Linked DNA regions of Homo sapiens: region 2 is linked to region 1. The links are contacts of gene promoters, found by promoter capture Hi-C in blood cells and fetal thymus (Javierre and others, 2016). All regions are on one chromosome and are shown on one strand. The core of a region is centred on a gene start or on the middle of the fragment in contact, and the rest is flanking DNA. Distances in the headings are between cores, read along the strand shown. Region 1 holds the start of TTC7B (tetratricopeptide repeat domain 7B). Region 2 overlaps RPS6KA5 (ribosomal protein S6 kinase A5).

Region 1 (3,806 bases), core at 306-2,805:
CTAATTTTTAAAAATATTTTTAGTAGAGACGGGTTTCACCATGTTAGCTAGGACGGTCTCGATCTTCTGACCTCGTGATCCGCCCACCTCGGCCTCCCAAAGTGCTGGGATTACAGGCGTGAGCCACCGTGCCCAGCCAAAAGCCAAGGTCTTATAATGGCCCACCAGGCACTACACAGAACTCCCCCCAACCTCTCAGAGTTCATCTCCTGCCTCGGCCCCTCTCCTTCGCTCCACCCAGCCCCTCTGGCCTCTGCCATTTCTCCATCCCACCCAGTGTGCTCTAACCCCAGAGCCTTCGCACTTGTGGTGTTCTCTGCCTGGGATACTCCTCCCCCAGAGATATCCTCATGGCTCCCCCTTAGTTTCTTCAAGTCTAATGCCACCTCCGTGAGGCCATCCCTGACTGCTCCATTTTAAATGGCAACACTTGCTCAGGCTGAAGTGCGTTCACTGCTCACTGCAGCCTCCACCTTCTGGGCTCAAGCAATCATCCTGCCTCAGCCTCCTGAGTAGCTGGGATTACAGGCATGAGCCACCCGCCTGTCCCAACTCTTTATGTTCCTCACTGAACCCTTCCCTGTTTCTTCAAATAGCCATTTTTACAGTCTAGTTTACTATTTTATTTTGCTTATTTTTCCCCCAAACTGGAATGTAAGCTCTCTCAAGCCAGGAATTTTGTTTTTTTAGCTCACAATTCTATCTCTGGCACCTAAAGCAGCGCCCAGCACATAGTAGGTGATCACTAGACAGTTGATTCACTGAGAGAACACAGAGGGACACCTCCCTAGGTCTCAGTCTAGGTGGCCAAGACAGGAGGCCCCACCAGTGACTGTGCCTTCCCCTCAGGGGGTCCGAGAGCTGGCGTGTGAGAGTGGCAGCCCCTGCCTGGCTCCGCTCAGCCATCTAGGGCACCCCTGGCAGGTGCTGTGCCTTGCCTGGGATGGAGGAGTCTCCGTCCACCTCTGGCTGGGTAGGGGCTAAGGCTGCGGGGCAGAGGGGCATCTGCTAAGGGGCACAGGCCAACCGGGCCCCAGGGAACCGCTGGCCACCTGAGATGGCAGGACAAACTCGGGCAGGCCTCCCCCCACCCCTCACACCTGGCTCACTGGTCCCACCGGGCGGTGACCTTCCCCAGGGTCACTGCCCTTTCTTGGCCCTACTCCTGGGGATCCAACCCGCTCCCAGGCTGTCGCTAGCTCCCTCCCGATCCTCTCCCTCCCCTTCATCCTGCCCAGACCCCTACCCCACCAGACCCCTCACCCGCCCTTGGTCAGATCTCTCTCCTACCCCGCTCCCCCACCCCCATCCCCACTTCCCCTCGGTCTTCACCCCGCCCCAGACACCCCCAGTCCCTCTCCCTGTCCTCCATGCCCACCCCGCCTTTCCTCCCTCGGGCCCCTGTCTCCCGCCCTAGCCCCCGCCCCTGCCCCAGCCCTGGCTCCGGCCCCGGTCAGTGCTGCGGCTCCGGCCCTGGCCGGCAGGGGCCGCTCCTCGCGGCGCCCGGGGCCCCGCCGCGCCCGCCGCCGCCGCCCGCCTCCCCGCCCCTTCCCCAGCCGGCGCTCCCGTTACGCCGCGGAGCCGGGAGCCGGAGCCCGAGCCCGCGGCGGCGGCGGGAGGCGGCGAGGGGGCGCCGCGGCGGCGGCGGTGGGGCCTGCGGGGCGGGCGGCCGGGCCCGGCCAGGCCGCGATGGCGACCAAGAAGGCAGGCTCGCGGCTGGAGACGGAGATCGAGCGCTGCCGCTCCGAGTGCCAGTGGGAGCGGATCCCTGAGCTCGTCAAGCAGCTGTCGGCCAAGCTCATCGCCAACGGTACGCTCCGGGCGCGCCGGCCTGGGCTGCGGGGGGCGCCGCGGCCTCCGCGGGAACGGGCCCCCGAGGCGCGGCCGGGCGCGGGGCGCGGGCAGGGGCGCGGCCGGGCCGCGAGGGAGCTGCGGCCCAGGGGATGTGCGCGGGACCGGGGCCTGGGGGAGCCCGGGTGCCCCGGAGTCACGCGGTGTGGGGGCCCGGGGGGGCGCCAGGGGCTGTCCCGGCGCCTGGGGTTCAAGCGTGCAGGGCGGGCTTCTGCGGAGTCTGGGGTGTCCGGGGGTCTCAGCGAGTCCGCTGCTCCACTGGGACCACAGGAGGTCAGGGGCCGGCCTGGGGCTTCCAAGAAGTTGGAGGTGATGGGGTGAGGGGGTCCCTCAGGACATGGGTGAAGTCCACAGTGTGTGTATGGTGTGCTCAGGGAATCAGGATGTGTTTATGGGGTCTTGAGAATGGGGTGTTGTACATAGACCCCTGGGGAATCTGGTTTGTAAACATATGGTGTTTAAGGGGTTCTGGGTGGAAGCGCAGACTCGAGGTGTGTGGGGTGGTGGTAGAAAGCAGGCTGGGATGTGCGTCCTGGCGTTCGGAGAAGTAGCATCAAGGCTGCCGACCTAGAGAGGTCAGGGTTGGGAATAGAGGAGAAATAGAGTCAGGGGGACCTGGAGGGAGAATATTGTGGAGCGAGATGGGAATGTGGTTGAAGAATGTCGGGAGATGGAGTTGGGTGGGTGAGGGGTTGGTGCCTGGGCCAGAAGGGGGTCTGAGGCAGCCTCTGAGTAGGAGCCTGGTGCCTGGAGTTGGTTCATGACCCCTTTAACTGGATTGGTTCTTGTACCCAATCAAATAAAATTGCATCCAGAATCCCATTCCAGTGCACAGCTCCACGTGGCCTTATTTGTTTTGGAAGCGAGTATCTTTAATATTTGCTTGTCTTTTAGTACCCGCCTAAAGCGCAGGCACCAGCACACCGTGGCCAGAGGGCAGAGGGTTTGTCTCATTTCATCCTGGGCTTCCCCAGGCCCAGTGAGCACATGTTGGCTGAACAAATGAATGAAAGAGTGAATGAATGGATGGCGGGGCTGCTCTAAGAAAGGACATCTGCACTATTTTCAACCTTCTCACTTCAGACTACCCAGAAAGGAGAGGGATGTCAGGTGTCCTCCTGGAGGGTGGTTTATGTTTGTGTCCTATGGTATTAGTGCCTGGAAATTAGAACTTGGTTTTGCGCACTCTCAATGATGGATGCATGCTGTGGGCAGGTACCTTCTGGGTGAACGCAGGTGCCATGGTGTGTCAGGGGCATGGAGATAGCACCGACCCTACACGGGCTCCACTTGGTGGAAAATGTGGACCCTTCTCAGTTATGTCAGCCTTTGAGGAGATGGTGTTCAGTGCCCTGGGCCCCAGAGGCAGCTTGCCTTTGCCCTCCGTGTCGGGCTCACCTGCTTCTCCGCTTACCTGCAGCATTTTCTCTTTTCCTCTCGGAGTTGCACAGTCCTGGGTCTACTTTGTGGCTTCCCAGCGGTGTAGGCATAATGACACCTTCTGTGCAGGTTGATTTTAGGATTAAATGGGTTTATTTGTGAGCCTCCTGGTCTTTTTTCTTCTGAATCCACTTGTTTCCTGCTGTCTTTGCTTATTCATTCACCCAATATTTGCGTGCCCACCTGTGCCAGTCACAGAACAGTGGTGAACAGCACTGACCAAGCCCCTGCCCTTATGCCCTCACCCTGCTCTCAGGAGGCAGGTGATAAGCAAATATGGAAATAAATAAACAGCACAGCTTCAGATAGTGAGAAGTGATTGAAACAAAACAGATGAGTTAATGTGATTGAGAATGACAGGCAGATGAAGGGGGACTCAAGCTATGATGGTCCCTGGAATGAGAGGGTAGATGGGTTTTTGGTGGCCTGGGCCCTTCCTATTCACCTTCATGGCCCCCGAAAGGCTTAGCTCTCTTCCCAGGGGCTGCTCCCAATGTCCTAAGATGCAGTCATGA
Region 2 (3,514 bases), core at 198-2,697, 85 kb before region 1:
GCCCCAGAGTTCTGAGAAGCTGTTTCAGGTAATTTCCCATCCTGTGCACATGCACATTGGCCATATGTCCTTTGAAAGAAAAGATTAAATTTCCCATATTGAAGTAGTTTTGTTGGCATCATAAAAATGGGATTCTCTAATATCCTCTAAATTATTAAATGCAGAAATATTGCACATTGTTAACCGAAGCTTATAGTTTGCTCAATAGCAGATATTGTTTATGCATTTATTTTTGATATAAGGGAAGTTTTAATTTTATACCTGAAATTTTATTTTTGTTCAGATTCTTTTATAGAAAATACAATAATCTTTTATTTTACCTCTATTCATATTTAAAAATTTTTATTTATATAGACAGGGTCTCACTCTGATGCCCAGACTGGAGTGTAGCAGTGCTGTCCTAGCTCACTGCAGCCTCAGACTCCTGGGCTCAAGTGATCCTCTCACCTTAGCCTCTGGGATAGCTGAGACCACAGGTGCAAACCAGCACACCCAGCTAATTTTTCTATTTTTTGCAGAGATAGGATCTTGCTATGTTGCCTAAGCTGGTCTTGAACTCCTGGCCTCAAGTGATCCTCCTGCCTTGGCCTCCCAAAGTGCTGGCATTACAGGCATGAGCCACCACGTCCAGCCAAAAAAATTTTTTTTTTTTAAGAAACAAGGTCTCACTCTGTCACCCAGGCTGGAGTGCAGTGGCATGATCATAGCTCACTGCAGCCTTTTTAACTGCTTGGCTCAGGGGATCCTCTTGCCTCAGCCTCCTGAATAGCTGGGACCACAGGTGCATGCCACCACACCCACCTAATTAAAAAAAAATTGTAGAAACAGGGTCTTACTTTGTTGCCTAAGCTGGTCTTGAACTCTGGCCTCAAGCGATCCTCCTGCCTTGGCCTCCCAAAGTGCTGGGATTCTAGGCATGAGCCACCGTGCCCCTCAACCCCCATATAAAAACATTCTTTAGTTCACAATGTTACCTTATTCTTTACCTTCAGTAATTAATCTTAACTGCTGTTAAAAAAAGATTTAGATTTTATATTTAGAAAAGGGCATTTGTCACACAAGATAAAATATTCTAACTATTAAATGGCATCAGAGCTTTGCTTCTTTGACTTCTATAAGTATACCTTTAGTATGGCTTAATCTGGCCATCCAGACGGTGTCTTTTCTTCTTTGCTTATCACTGTCTAGTATGTGACTGGGCACTTATTGAACATTTTTTTAAATGTTTGTTGATTAGTGAATGTTCTAGCTTGAACGGATTAATCATCCGTCTTTGTACCACTTAGCTCAGAGCATCATTCTGCCATTAGACTTTGTTCCTTTCCAAAACTCAATTTTAAATTTAATTATTCTGAAGATATTAATAAGAATCAAATAATTGCTAAATTAGAAACTAACTTTAGTGAGACTTGCCATTTTTCCAGTTTGAAAAACAATAGCATTTAAAGACCACTTTGTGGCTGGGTCTGGTGGCTCAGGCCTTTAATCCCAGCACTTTTGGAGGCCGAGGTGGGTTGATCACTTGAGGTCAGGGGTTTGAGACCAGTTCGAGACATGGTGAAACCCCGTCAGGCATGGTGGCATGTGCCTATAATCCCAGCTACTTGGGAGGCTGAGGCAGGAGAATGGCTTGAACGCAGGAGGCAGAAGTTGCAGTGAGCCAAGATCGCACCACTGCACTCCAGCCTGGGCAACAGAGCCAGACTCAATCTCAAAAAAAAAAGACCACTTTGTTTAATACCTTGACTGTATCCTTTTTTGAGAAGTTAGTTATGTTTGTAAACAAATTTCATCAGCAAACCAGGAGAATTTCATCTATGAGTCTGATTTTGGGGGTGGAATAGGGAAGAAGTCTTTTTCTACCTTTATTTTTGAATTGGTTTAGTTCTACCAGAAGATGGCATTATATCCTTCTGAACAGCATTTTTCAAATGATTTGAAATAACCTTGCATTTTAGATTGCAAATAAAATAAAATTAGACTCATCTCAACAAATATTTGAGTGTTTTTCTAAGGAAAAAAAGTCATTACAATCTAATCTGTGTTAAACTGGAAAACTGCAAGTTGTTTTTCTTTATCTTTCTTTGTCTTGTTTTTAGGGCTATTCCTTTGTTGCTCCTTCCATCCTATTCAAGCGTAATGCAGCTGTCATAGACCCTCTTCAGTTTCACATGGGAGTTGAACGTCCTGGAGTGACAAATGTTGCCAGGAGTGCAATGATGAAGGTATATAGATGTGGTAACTTATATGACATATTTGTAGGTTTTGTGAGTGTTTAAATACCAACTCTAATTAATGTTCTTAAGTCTAGTAATTCAACTAAAGTGCAATTTTAAAAGTGGGATATAGCAATATTTTCCCTAGAGAATTAACGTCAAGTTGAATGAACTTCTTTTTACAATTATAGAGAATTATGTATCTTAAATAATTATTTAGATGAAAATAGAAGTTACCTATAAAGATGAATTTTAGATTATAAATGTATTCTATTCCTGTTTATTAATATTAATAATTTTATTTTACTCTACAATTTTATTGATCCTTTGTGTATTACTGACATTTTCTGAAGTTAAATGATGTTGATTTCTTGACAGGACTCTCCATTCTATCAACACTATGACCTAGATTTGAAGGACAAACCCCTGGGAGAAGGTAGTTTTTCAATTTGTCGAAAGTGTGTGCATAAAAAAAGTAACCAAGCTTTTGCAGTCAAAATAATCAGCAAAAGGTATGACCATTTTTAATATAATATTCTTTCTTAGGTATTCATGAATTCTGTAAATTAAAAGATATTTATTTTAATTGAAACCAGTATTATATTGTAAGACTTTCTTACCCAAAGGTTTAACCACTTGGCTCATCAGTTGGTCCATTATACTTTTAGCTCTAATTGATATTTTCTGATAAAGTAATCCATTTTAGACATAAATCATAGTCTTATTTGCTTTTGAGTTTATCTAGAGAAAACGTCTTTGTGACAGTGACATATTTAATCAGGCTCACATAGTGATTTTGGCAGCCATTGCCATTTCTACTAGTTGTGTATTTGAAATATTTTTCTCTAAAATTATTTAGCAAGCTACTGATAGCTTTGAGAGCCATCTAGTTGTTTTGGTAACTGATGATTATTATTAAGATTGCATATTCTTATTACTCTAAATTGTCAGGAAAGTAGAGCATTCATTTCCTCATATGATTTGTACTTTTCTGACTCAGAAATAATAATTTTCTCCAGAATATTACTTTTTCTAGTGTGTGGTATAATTCATTACTTTCATGGAAACCTCATTACAGTATACTGTAACATGTATATTCTGAATGCACTGTAAATAAGACAAAATTAGTCTTGGGGCAGTACTGATATAAAAACTTTCTTGAAGAGACATGTGGATGCTAAGTGTCTCATCTTGCAGGATGGAAGCCAATACTCAAAAGGAAATAACAGCTCTGAAACTCTGTGAAGGACACCCCAATATTGTGAAGTTGCATGAAGTTTTTCATGATCAGGTATCCT

What was found. Contacts are between HindIII fragments. The CHiCAGO score rates a contact against its expected background, and 5 or more counts as called.
Region 2: a fragment that was not itself captured here is called in contact with the fragment with the promoter of TTC7B in region 1 in 1 of 17 cell types (megakaryocytes); the score reaches 6.1 in megakaryocytes.

The regions. Positions count from the first base shown.
Region 1 is chr14:90,814,179-90,817,984 of GRCh38, reverse strand. It overlaps TTC7B (tetratricopeptide repeat domain 7B), which reads left to right and starts at 1,555. Exons shown (of 20, transcript NM_001010854.2): 1 at 1,555-1,810. The coding sequence starts at 1,690. RefSeq lists a silencer at 1,382-1,561. The HindIII fragment of the contact is 10,969 bases long and covers 1-3,806 here.
Region 2 is chr14:90,899,322-90,902,835 of GRCh38, reverse strand. It overlaps RPS6KA5 (ribosomal protein S6 kinase A5), which reads left to right. Exons shown (of 17, transcript NM_004755.4): 9 at 1-28; 10 at 2,100-2,225; 11 at 2,595-2,728; 12 at 3,414-3,507. Among named protein-coding and RNA genes, the nearest start is that of LINC02321, 73 kb to the right of the region's middle. The HindIII fragment of the contact is 2,511 bases long and covers 192-2,702 here.